Regions from separate parts of the Homo sapiens genome. Here region 2 is linked to region 1. Evidence: promoter capture Hi-C in 16 types of primary human blood cells and fetal thymus (Javierre and others, 2016). All regions are on one chromosome and are shown on one strand. Each heading gives the region's core, a stretch centred on a gene start or on the middle of the fragment in contact. The rest is flanking DNA. Distances are from core to core; before and after follow the strand shown. Region 1 holds the start of ZNF74 (zinc finger protein 74). Region 2 has its middle 17 kb from the start of RTN4R.

What was found. Contacts are between HindIII fragments. The CHiCAGO score rates a contact against its expected background, and 5 or more counts as called.
Region 2: a contact is called between a fragment that was not itself captured here and the fragment with the promoter of ZNF74 in region 1, in 2 of 17 cell types (M0 macrophages and non-activated CD4 T cells). The highest score is 7.7, in M0 macrophages.

What each region holds. Positions count from the first base shown.
Region 1 is chr22:20,390,232-20,395,770 of GRCh38, forward strand. ZNF74 (zinc finger protein 74) reads left to right here and starts at 3,920. Exons shown (of 5, transcript NM_003426.4): 1 at 3,920-4,431; 2 at 5,102-5,187. The coding sequence starts at 4,398. RefSeq lists enhancers at 3,030-4,019, 3,421-3,490, 3,961-4,100. The HindIII fragment of the contact is 14,387 bases long and covers 1-5,539 here.
Region 2 is chr22:20,282,316-20,288,397 of GRCh38, forward strand. No RefSeq gene overlaps it. Among named protein-coding and RNA genes, the nearest start is that of RTN4R, 17 kb to the left of the region's middle. RefSeq lists enhancers at 1-616, 617-1,357, 1,358-2,097 and a silencer at 3,506-3,575. The HindIII fragment of the contact is 7,595 bases long and covers 978-6,082 here.

The sequences.
Region 1 (5,539 bases), core at 2,670-5,169:
CCTCGAGAATTGAGGAATCAGAGAACTTAGGAACAAGAACATGACCTGGGACTTCTTATGTAAGTGAGAATCTTAGGCTAAATTGTCTTGCGGTAAATGCCTTTCCCATCCTCAGAAGTCTATAGTGAGCAGAAAGCAGTAACAGCATCCTCCCTTCCACTCTTCCCTTCAGGCTGAACACATCCCTGTCCCTACAGCCTTTGCAGAGACACAGGTGACAGAGCACTCAATATAGAATCCCTGGGCTCACACTGGCTTTCCTACAGACACAGGGGATCCATGAGGCCCACAGTGACATACACATGTACACAAGGATGCACGTACTGACACTGATGAGCCCTGGAAGTCAACACAGAGTGGCATACAGAAGAACACATGCAGGCACACACACAGCCACAACTGGACCTGCGAGGTCTACAGCCCCACAAATGAAAAGAGGTGCATACCATCTCACAACAAACTAGAACTTTGAGAGAACCACACACACACACAGGTCTACAAATTCACCTGAACAAGACGCCGTCCATAGTCACTGGCGTAAGGCATCTACTCACTATCACACAGAACACACTCAGGCAAGCAGACATAGATGATACATCCACAATCTACAGAGATGAACTGCAGAGTTACATGCACAGATATGCCAGTCATACATTCAGATCTGTGTAAACAGTGAGGCACACACACACATACACATGTGCACTTATACAGAAAGACTCAGACCCAGCCAGGCATGGTGGCTCAGGCCTGTAATCCTAGCACTTTGGGAGGTCGAGGCGGGTGGATCACGAGGTCAAGAGATTGAGACCATCCTGGCTAACATGGTGAAACCCCATCTCTACTAAAATTACAAAAAAATTAGCCGGGTGTGATGGCGGGCACCTGTAGTCCCAGCTACTCAGAAGGCAGAGATTGCAGTGAGCTGAGATTGCGCCACTGCACTCCAGCCTGGACAACAGAGCGCGACTCCATCTCAAAAACAAAAAAAGAAAGACTCAGACCTGACCTGTTAGTCAACAGCCAGATGCCAACAGATAATCACATTAGACTCATCAGCAAGCACACCGTGCACACAAGTTCCACTCCCATGTACAGGTTCCTGTCCCATGTACACAAGCCTGCACACAAACACGTATCCAGACTCCAGAACTGTTGAGACAGTGCCCACATACACACTCATAGAGTCACCTGTGCACAGGTGCACGTACACATTGTTTCACAGAGGCACACCAGGACAGAAACACATAAGAAATGTGAGGCAAAAGCGGACCCACACCTACACCTGTAAGATACACAGAGAAACAAACACATACACAAACTTACACATAGACTCATGCACTGTGTAATCAACAGTTCTATACCCCACCAAGGCTCTTGTCCTGGTGTGTCCAGAATTGGTGGGTTCTTGGTTTCACTGACTTCAAGAATGAAGCCACAGACCCTCGTGGTGAGTGTCACAGTTCTTAAACGCAGCGTGCGCGGAGTTTCTTCCTTCTGGTGCGTTCGTGGTCTCGCTAGCTTCAGAAGTGAAGCTACAGACCTTCGCAGTGTTAACAGCTCATAAAGGCAGCGTGGACCCAAAGAGCTAGACACAAAAGTTCTCCACGTCCCCACTAGATTAGCTAGATACAGAGTGTCCACTGGTGCATTCACAAACCCTGAGCTAGACACAGAGTGCTGATTGGTGCATTTACAAACCTTGGGCTAGATACAGAGTGCCAATTGGTGTATTTACAATCCCTTAGCTAGACATAAAGGTTCTCCAAGTCCCCACCAGAGTAGCTAGATACAGTGTTGATTGATGCATTCACAAACCCTGAGCTAGACACAGAGTGCTGATTGGTGTGTTTACAAACCTTGAGCTAGATACAGAGTGCCGATTGGTGTATTTTCAACCCCTTAGCTAGACATAAAGGTTCTCCAAGTCCCCAGCAGAGTAGCTAGATACAGTGTCGATTGATGCATTCACAAACCCTGAGCTAGACACAGGGTGCTGATTGGTGTGTTTACAAACCTTAAGCTAGACACAGAGTGCCCACTGGTGTATTTACAATCCCTTAGCTAGACATAAAGGTTCTCCAAGTCCCCACCAGACTCAGAAGCCCAGCTGGCTTCACCCAGTGGATCCCGCACCGGGGCCGCAGGTGGAGCTGCCTTCCAGTCCCGCGCCGTGCGCCCGCACTCCTCAGCCCTTGGGTGGTCGATGGGACTGGGCGCCGTGGAGCAGGGGGCGGCGCTTGTCGGGGAGGCTTGGGCCGCGCAGGAGCCCACGGCGGTGGGTAGGCTCAGGCATGGCGGGCTGCAGGTCCCGAGCCCTGCCCCGCGGGGAGGCAACGAAGGCCCGGCGAGAAGTCGAGCACAGCAGCTGCTGGCCCAGGTGCTAAGCCCCTCACTGCCCGGGTCCGGCTGGCAGCTCCGAGTGCGGGGCCCGCTGAGCCCACGCCCACCCGGAACTCGTGCTGGCCCGCAAGCGCTGCGCGCAGTCCCGGTTCCCGCCCGCGCCTCTCCCTCCACACCTCTCGGCAAGCTGAGGGAGCCGGCTCCGGCCGCAGCCAGCCCAGGAAGGGGCTCCCACAGTGCAGCGGTGGGCTGAAGGGCTCCTCAAGCGCGGCCAGAGTGGGCGCCAAGGCCGACTAGGCGCCGAGAGCGAGCAAGGGCTGTGAGGACTGCCAGCACGCTGTCCCCTCTCACTGGGTTGCTATTAAAAATGGGCGCTGAATATAAAAATTAACCGGGCGTGGTGGTGCATGTCTGTAAGTCCCAGCTACTCCGGAGGCTGAGGTGGGAGAATAGTTTGAGCCCGAGAGACTGAGGCTACGGTGAGCCGTGATTGTGCAACTGCACTCCAGCCTGGGCGACAGAGTGAGACCCAGTCTCAAAACAAAATCAAACACGGGCGCTGCCCTGGGCAGGGGAGGTCTGGGCACAGCTGTGCTGATGTGGGCAGTGGACAGGTGTCACGTGAGAGCCTGTGGCCAAGCCTAAGCTGCGGTTAAGGTGGGAGGCTGAAGGGTTTGGAGTGTGCACCACCCCGGACCACCTCTCAGTAGGAATGTGGCAATGCACTTCGGTGCTGGATTCCTACTTCTGGCTGTGTGATTTGCGACACGTTACCCCACGCACCTGTACCACAACTTCCTCATCTCCCAAATGGGATGACAGTAGTTAGCAAACCTCCCTGGACTGCTGTGAGCATTCTGCCAGAAAAATGTACTCCAAGCTCTTGAAGTAGGCCTGGCGTTTGGTTGGTGCTCAGTACATATTCAATGTTTCTGTCGCTGGCGTCATCACTGTGTTCATGGCAGAGCTCTGTGCCGCCAGGACTGGGCCGCCACCCAGACCTTCCTTTCCCGCCCCAGGGGTGAACTGTGGACAGGACCCTCTGGGGGGACTAGGCCAAGGCTCTCCCACCTCTGGGGACCCGCGCCCATGGGCCTCAGATATGTGGCTCGAGAAGGGGGAGTGGGGGCAGGGCCCCTGGAAAACCCCTCGAGGCCAGACCCACCACTCCCAATATCCGTAAGACCAGGGGCTTGAGTCTTTCCTGCAGACAGATGTGGGCAGGAACCCACCCGACTCCCAGCTACGTGGGGACGTGGACGAACTAACAGGACAAATTCTAGTTCCTGGACACCGCCCTCCCAGTATCCTCGCAATTAGACACCCATGCAGCGGCACTACACTGATCCGCACACGGAGATACACAGCGACATCCGCCCGCAAGAGCATGGTGGGTGCCGGAGCTCCCGGCTGTGGGCCCAGGAACTACATTTCCTAGAAGGATGTGCTAGATACTCGTTCGCGTCGGGACGCAAGCACCGGCCCGAACTCGCTCTAGGAAATGGAGTCTGACGCCTGCGCGGCGCAAACGCTCCCGGGAGGTGTAGTTTGCGCCTATTTCGCGCAGGCGCGCTTTCCCGCAGCGGCCGCCTGCTGCTCTTTGTGGCAGTCGCAGTCCTTTTGTGGGAGTCCGGTCTGTCCACTTGCCGGTCCCTCAGACCGTCGGCGGTCTCTGTCCGCTTCGGGACCTGTCCGCTGGTCGCTCCGCGTCCGATGGCTCCTGGCCGCGGAACCTTAGGCCTGGCCCTGGTCTCCGAGCGCGGGTTCGCCGGGAGGAGCGTGTGGCGGGGGTGTGCCGGGGCGTGAGTGCGCCGAGCATGGGGCTGAGCCTGGTGTGGGGAGTGGGTATCTGCGGAGCCGGCCTGAACCCCACCTCAGCCGGGCGCGGGGAGGGGGCTCCGTGCGTGTGATCGTGCAGCTGTGAGCGCGTGGCCGCCCCGCGGGGCTCCGCTGCAGGCCCCTCAGCCCCAGGAGCAGTACTCGCTCTTCAGGGCCTGCCCTGGATCCTGGAGGCTACACAGCTGCCCACTCCTCCTGGGGAGGCTGCCGTGGAGGCCATGGAGATCCCTGCCCCGGAGCCCGAGAAGACAGGTACAGCTTCACTCTTGTAGTCAGTATGTCTGTGGATTTGCACTTGAGGATATTGACACTCAGAGAGATCAGGCCAGTTTCCCAGAAGCATCCAGCATCTTTTTTTTTTTTTTTAAATGGAATCTCACTCTGTCACCCAGGCGGGAGTGGTGCAATGGCTTGATCTCCGCTCACTGCAACCTCTGCTTCCCGGGTTCAAACTATTCTCCCGCCTCAACCTCCCAAGTAGTTGGGATTGCAGGCGCGCGCCACCACGCCCGGCTAATGTTTGTATTTTTAGTAGAGACGGGGTTTTGCCATGTTTCCCAGGCTGGTCTTAAGCTCAAGCGATCCGCCCGCCTCGGCCTCCCAAAGTGCTGGGATTACAGGCGTGAGCCATCGCTCCTGGCCTCCTGCTTCTTTCTTCCCCGCGCCCAATCATTTGTTCCCACTCAGACGTGCTTGATTGGGGGTAGCAGCTCTTTTCGTCATGAATTGGAGTGTCTGAGACACAGGCAGATTATTCCTCGATGCTGTTTCTGTTGGTGCTAGCTACTGGGGCTCGTTCCCCACCTGGCCTTGCTGGCAGGTTCTGCCTCCTCTCTGATTCTCACTTGTGCCACGACAGGTGGGCTTTAAGCTCAGCCGTGAGCCTGGTAGCCGTGACCTTGACTCATTTCTCCTTCGCCAGCTCTTTCCTCTCAGGATCCTGCTCTTTCCCTGAAAGAGAATCTCGAGGATATATCGGGTTGGGGTCTTCCCGAAGCCAGGTCCAAGGTGAGTGGCTGTGTGTTCTTCCTTCTTTATGAAGAGGGTTGGCACATTCCCTCCCCAGCCCTGGATCGTCAGCCTTCCACAGACCTTCACCCGGGTACCTGCTGGCCAGTCCTCAGGAAGCTCTGGGCAGTGGGAACAGCTCCAAGTGAAGAGTCCAGATGTTGCCCGAGGTGTGCCCTCGAGATGTGCTCTATTGAATGTCTCGCCCAGTCCAATTCAGTGGGTCAGTTGCTGGGGATCTCTCTGCCCAGCGCTGTGCTGGGAGCTCTGAGGAGTGGTTTTAGTGGAATCTGAGAAAGTAGTTGACGGCTCACATGGGGTCGCTTTGCCTATCCACGTGCTGGCCAGGGGT
Region 2 (6,082 bases), core at 3,525-6,024, 110 kb before region 1:
CCAGAAAACCATGATGTTTGGGGTCAAACAGCTGGGAGAGGCAGTTGGAACTCAGGCCAGGCCTGTCTGACTGGACAGTGCAGAGACTGGGACCATGCTCCCCTACAAGTGCTGTCAGTGCACCCTCGATGCCCCCCAGAGCTTGCCATGCCCCGACAGTCCCTTCATGGCCAAAGTGTTCCCTGGCACAGGATACCCTGGGGTGCCATGTCTGCAAGAGCTCACACCCTTCTCTCCCCAGCTGCTGCTAACTGCTGCCAGAGGTGGGAGTGTGGAGGGCTCGGGGCCTCTTCACCCTCCCTGCACCAACTCAGCTCCAGAACATTCCCAGCAGTGAGAAGAGGGTGGCCACTGTGCTGCAGCCCCAAGGGATGGGCAAGGCCATGCCAGCTGGAGTCATCCATGTCCCCTTGGACATGGTGGCCTCATTCAGAGGGCAGCATGGAGGAAGGTGCAATGAGGGTGGCTACCAGAGACAGTGGAGATGAGGCAGTCAGGAAGCCCAGGGACAGGACTGGAGGGGACACACGGCCAGCCTGGGACAGGGCATGAGGCCTTTGTTCTGCGTGCTGTGGCATACGGTGTTGGCTCTGGCCCTGGCCCATCTTTTGTTAGTGGTAGGAGGGTGCTCCTTTAATCAGCCAACTCTTTGTTTCAAATTGCCCCTGTCCTTGAAAACACTGCTTCAGGGAAGCGTGAGACAAAGCCAGTTCAGTGGGGTGCCTACCTGGCCAGCAGCCCTCATCCGCAGGGGCTGCTCCTGGGGCACGTGCCAGAATCAGACAGTCCCACCGTCATGCAGGTGCTGGGGCCTTCAGTCAGCAGGACCAGGCAGCCCATGTCCTGGGGACCCTTGGGGAGGTGTGGGCATTTGCTGAGTTGGGCTGTCATTTGCTAGACAGGCGCTTGGCGAAGGGGCCCTTTTGTGCATGGATGCCCTGGGCAGGTGTCAGTCCTGAGTCCTGGAGAGGAAGGCAAGCTTTGGAGTTGATGCTGGGTCCTAGGAGGGAGCGTGTGGTTTCGCCAGCTTCTCAAAAGTCACCTGAGACCCTGCCAAGGGACCTCCAGACATTCGGTGCAGGCTCCTGGAGGCTGGACAGAGGGCACCAAAGGGCGACGGGCCCCGAGGACAGAGGTGTGCAGCCAGGTGGGGCCATGGCCAGGCTGGGACCTGCTGGAGCTCTTGTGTGTGAGCCTGGAGGAGCTGCCAGGCTGGGGGAGATCGGGGCTGGGGCTGGGGGCGGGGCTGGGCGTCAGCAGGGTCTGCAGCTCCCATCTTCCCAGCTTATAGACCTGAATATCCAGGTTGAGAATAAACCATTCTCCCAGGGCACCATAGCCTCCAGGAAGCACCTCCTCCTTCCACCATCCGCCTTTCAGGAGGGGCCTCCCTGGGGGGCTGTCTCTGGGACTGCAGAGGCTGCTTGGTGTATCTGGGGCTCTGACATGAGTGAGATTGTTCCGGGGCCTGTGCTGCCCAGCCTCTTCCCCAACAGCTTCCTCTGGAGGCAAGGGGCTTGGCAGGAGCTGCAGGGAGCCAATTATCCCTGAGGCAAGCTGGCTGCAGATAATTGGGAAGACAGGCTTTTCACCAGCAGCCAAGCTCTGGGGCGCACTCGCCACACCAGGACTTGGGACTTGAGGATCCAGAGGTCTGCCAAACCCCACGCCTGATTGGGAGCCCCATGTGCTGCCATCTACCAGGGGAGGTGGCATTTTCTTGGCAACTGAGGGGGGAAGCCAGGTGCTGAGGTGTGGCCCACGGGACGCCTCGCCTGGGGACCTCCCAGCCCTTCTCCTCTGCCTCCTAGGGGCCTCCTCTCCTTACACATGAAAACCTCCAATGTCTAGCCCAGGGCTCCAGATTAGGGGTCAGTGCCGCCCCCAGCCCAACTTCCTCTGGGAAGTGTGGGGTTCTCCCCGGGGCACTCAGGCCTCTTTCTTACAGGGCTTCCCAAGGGGAGGCATCCAGAGGAAGGCAAAGGCTGTGATCAGGTAGAACCCGCTGGACGCCCCCACCATCTCCCTCCATCAACATCAAAAGACAAGCTGACCACCCCCAATGCAAGGTGGACATTAGGGTTAAACCCTGAGTGACCAGCACTCAGCTCCCAGCCTGGCCGGGATGCAGTGGGGTGGGGTGTGGTGGGCTCATGGGGCTGGTGAGAGCCCGGTGGGGTGGGTTTCAGGTGCTGCTTGTCCAGGGCTCAGCTCTGTTCCTTGGGGCTCCCTCAGCCCAAGGGCCCACCTCCCCTCTGGGCAGCCCCGATCGGCGTGTTCTGCCTCGGCCAGCTGTCAGCCACCTGCAGCTCCTCCCTCATTGCACCACCCTGGAGCATCACGGTGCCCAGGGCAGGCCGTGGAGACCTGGCTAGCCCATGGTCTGCTCAGTCCTCACCAGCTGTTGTGACAGAAACAAGTCTGTGCTGATGAGCTGAGCCGACCAGGCTGCAGCCCTCACTTCAGGAGAGGGTCAGGCCCAGCCAGGCCTGGTGAGCAGGTGTGGGGAAGGATGGGTGCTCATGTGCGGGAAGTTTCTCAAGAGTGGTGGAAGGAGGATAGACAACGAGGGCCCAGTGGATAGGGCGGGGAGGCAGGAAGAGGGGACAGAGAGGGGACCAGTGAAGGAGAGTGGAGGGTACTGCCCCCCTGGGGGAAGGATGGGGTGGGGCTGGTGTTAGCTGGGTTGGGTGTGTGGGTCTGGCAGGGAGCCGGGCATGGGAGTGGGTCCCGAGGAATGCTAGGTTGGAGCCAGGACCATGGGCCTCACCAGTCATAGAAGCCTCACCTCAGGGCAGAGGGGGCTGACAGACTGGGCTGACGGGAAGGGGGGCTTCCTGTCACCAGAGAACATAAAGGGACCACTAGTGGCCTGGGCCATGAGGCTCTGTGGCCCTCAAGGTGCTGAGCTCAAGGTGGGCCCAGCCCATGGCTGCCTTTGTGGGGACCCCACAAGGAGATGCTGGCCTCTGAGGATGCTCAGACCTGGTTCAGCATGGCCAGGCCCTGGCCTAGCCCAAGGTCAGCACTGGCCACTACCCTGGGGGCTGAGTCTCCGTCTCGCCCTGTGACATGGTGCCCACACTATGAGCCAGTGTCAACCCTTTGCCCATACACCGGGAGCCTTGTGTGTCCATACTCATGGCTGAGGGCCTGTTTGGGGGTCTCTGTGTTGGGGGAGGTGGGTCCAGGGTGCGTGGCCCCTGGGATTGTTCATCATGAGTGCCACCTGGAAGGTGCTGGAGCCTCACCCGTCCTCCAGAGTGTTTTGGGGAGATCCTGTGCTGGCATCTTGGCTGGGCCAGGATGGTGTCTAGGAGGGACCCTTGGGAGGGAAGCAGGGGCATCAGGGGGCCTGGTGCTGGGGTGGGTGGCAGGAGAGGCCTGGAGGGCGGCGGCCCAAGCCAGTGGCTGGGCAGGTGTCAGGAGGGAGAGGGGTGAGGCCTGGCCTCCCTGCCACAGCTTAGCCAGGGCCTGGGGTGTCTTGGGGTGGGACAAGGCCCAGGGCAGAGGCAGGGCTGCTTGCATGCAGGGTGGCCACATCCCGGCCTGGTGAGTGCCGGCCACTCAGTTCTGTGGCCCTCTGCTGCCCTCTGCCGGCCGCCTCTGTCCCTGCAGGCCCAGCCATCTACCTGCAGGTCTGGACAGACCCTCAGAGCCTAGGCTGGGAGGTCTCAGGAGTCAAGACAGGGTTGAATCCCATTTGAGGGCATCTGAAGGAGTGAGAGCCTATGTCAATCCCCTGCCCAGCCTTGCCTCGGCCAGTGGCTCCCAGGGGACTCTGGTGGGCAGTGGCTAAAGATGACAGAGGGGCTCAGAGAGGCTGAGCTGCTCTGTAAGGTTGCACAGTGAGCAGGGGCCGAGTGGCCTTGGGAGAGGCAACAGCAGGAGGGTCCTCGTCATGGCCACAGCCCAGGGACAGGAAACCCCTGCTGGGTTCCCCCACCAAGTAGCTCCCATTCCCAGCCCTTAGGGTGTCTCAGGAGAGGTTCCGGGGGAGGTCCCACCTGCCTCCTGCCTTCTCCCCCAACCACACCCTAAATGGGTCCCAGCTCCCCAGCCCCTCCCACAAGGGCTCACCCGCCAGAGCTCGGGGAGAGGCCCTGCAGGGCGGCTGTTCCTCCGTGTGCTGCAGTCCTCTGGACACTGAAAGCCAATCCCATCCATCTTAATGGCATTTAATATGCACAGTGAAAGTCAGCAGCCACAGCCACGGGCGTGTGCTCAGGGCAAGGTTTACACGCGGATGCCACCAGGCTTAGCCCATGAGTGGCCTCCTGGGTCCCAGGAGACCTGTGGGGTGGGGGTGCAGCTGGGTGGGCCATGGTAGCAGAGACCTGGGGAGGGGATGTGGGAGGTAGGAACTGGGCTAGGCAGGGACTCAGGGGAGGCTGAGGCCTGGAACAGGGAGACTGAGACCTCAAGGAGGCTGGGACATTGGGAGTCAAGACTTGGGGAAGCTGGAACATGGGCAGGCCGAGACGCAGGGGTTTAAGAATGAGGGTCTGGTGCAGACCTGAGTTGGAGCCCAGCCGCTGCTGGCCCCACGTAGCTGGAGAGTGTGCTGACCCCATGGTGGCTAGAGAATGTGCTGTTGGTAGGGAAGGCAAGTGCTGGGAAGGGAAAAGTGTGGTCCATTTAAATGATACGGAAGCAGGGGAGGGAAGTGCTGGGTAGAGGAGGGCATGGTCCCAGACTAGGGCTCCAACCCCACGGACCTAGGTGAGAACAGGCACTTCCTACCCAAATGTTGCATTTCTCACGACCACCCTAGCCTGCCACGCCCCCATCCTGTGCTTATAAAATCCCCCGAGACCTTAGCAGGCAGACACAGGCAGCTGGACGTGGAGAGGAACACATCAGCGGAGACACACACGGGCGGCTGGATGTCGAGATGAACGCACTGATAGGCACCGGCATGCTGGCAGGCCACTGACTGGCAGAACCACACGGAGTTTGGCTGGGGCAGTTGGAGGACAGCCCGGGTGCACAGCGGCCCCACTCCAGGGGAAAACCTTCCCACTCCACCCCCTTCTAGCTTCCCCTATCTGCTGGGAGCCACCTCCCCTCAATAAAACCTTGCACTCATTCTCCAAGTCCACGTGTGATCTGACTCTTCTGGTACACAAAGGCAAGAACCCCAGGATCCAGAAAGCCCTCTGACTAACACAAGCCACCCTACAGACGACAAACTAAAAAAGCCCCCGTGACACACGCCCACTGGGGCTTCAGCTGTAAACCTTCACCCCTAGACACTGCTGTGGGGTCGGAGCTCCACAGCCTGCCCGTCTGTAAGCTCCCCTAGAGGTTTGGGCAGCAGAGCACTGAAGAAGCGAGCCACTCCCCTTCTCACACACCCTGCTAGGGCAACAAGGGAACTTTTTCCGTTTCACTGGCCCAAGGTGGCTGGACAGTGTGCTGGCCCCACGGTAGCTGGAGAGTGTGTCGCGCTCCCTGGCTTTCCTCCTGATGTATAAAATGAGTTAGCGGGTCCTGGGGGCTGTTCCCACAGTGACGTGGTGGAGGCTGACCCTGACACCCACCCCTGCTGAATGCTCAGTGAATGGTGGTTGCTGTCAGGAAGCATCATTGCTGTCCTCCATCAGTGTCTGTGGGGCTAGGTGACTCTTGGAGGATGCTTCCAGCAACGTTGCACTGCCAAGACAGAGGCCGTCCACCTGCCTCTGGGCTTCCTGGTGTGAACAGATGGATGGATGCGTGGGCCTGCTGCGTGCAGGGAGCTGAGGCTGGGTCTTCACCTATGGGCAGGAGGCTACACAGGGCTCTGGGAGAGACAGCACTGTGGCTGGGACAGAGCCCATGTGATGAGATGCCCTCGGTGCCCCTGGCCTCCCTCCTCGCTCCTGCCCCTCTGGAACATCACCCAGAGCCCCCCTTGCTCTTTTGGGGGATGTCTGGGTGTCTGCGGTTGCTGTCACTCTTGATCCCACCCACCCACCCCTGCAGGTTGCTGGCAGGACAAGTGCAGGAGTCATCTCATGGCTTTCCCTGGGATCTCTGTACCCGCTGAGAGCCGGGAGCTGCACACAGCCTGTCCACCATCCTGGGAACTCACCCTGTT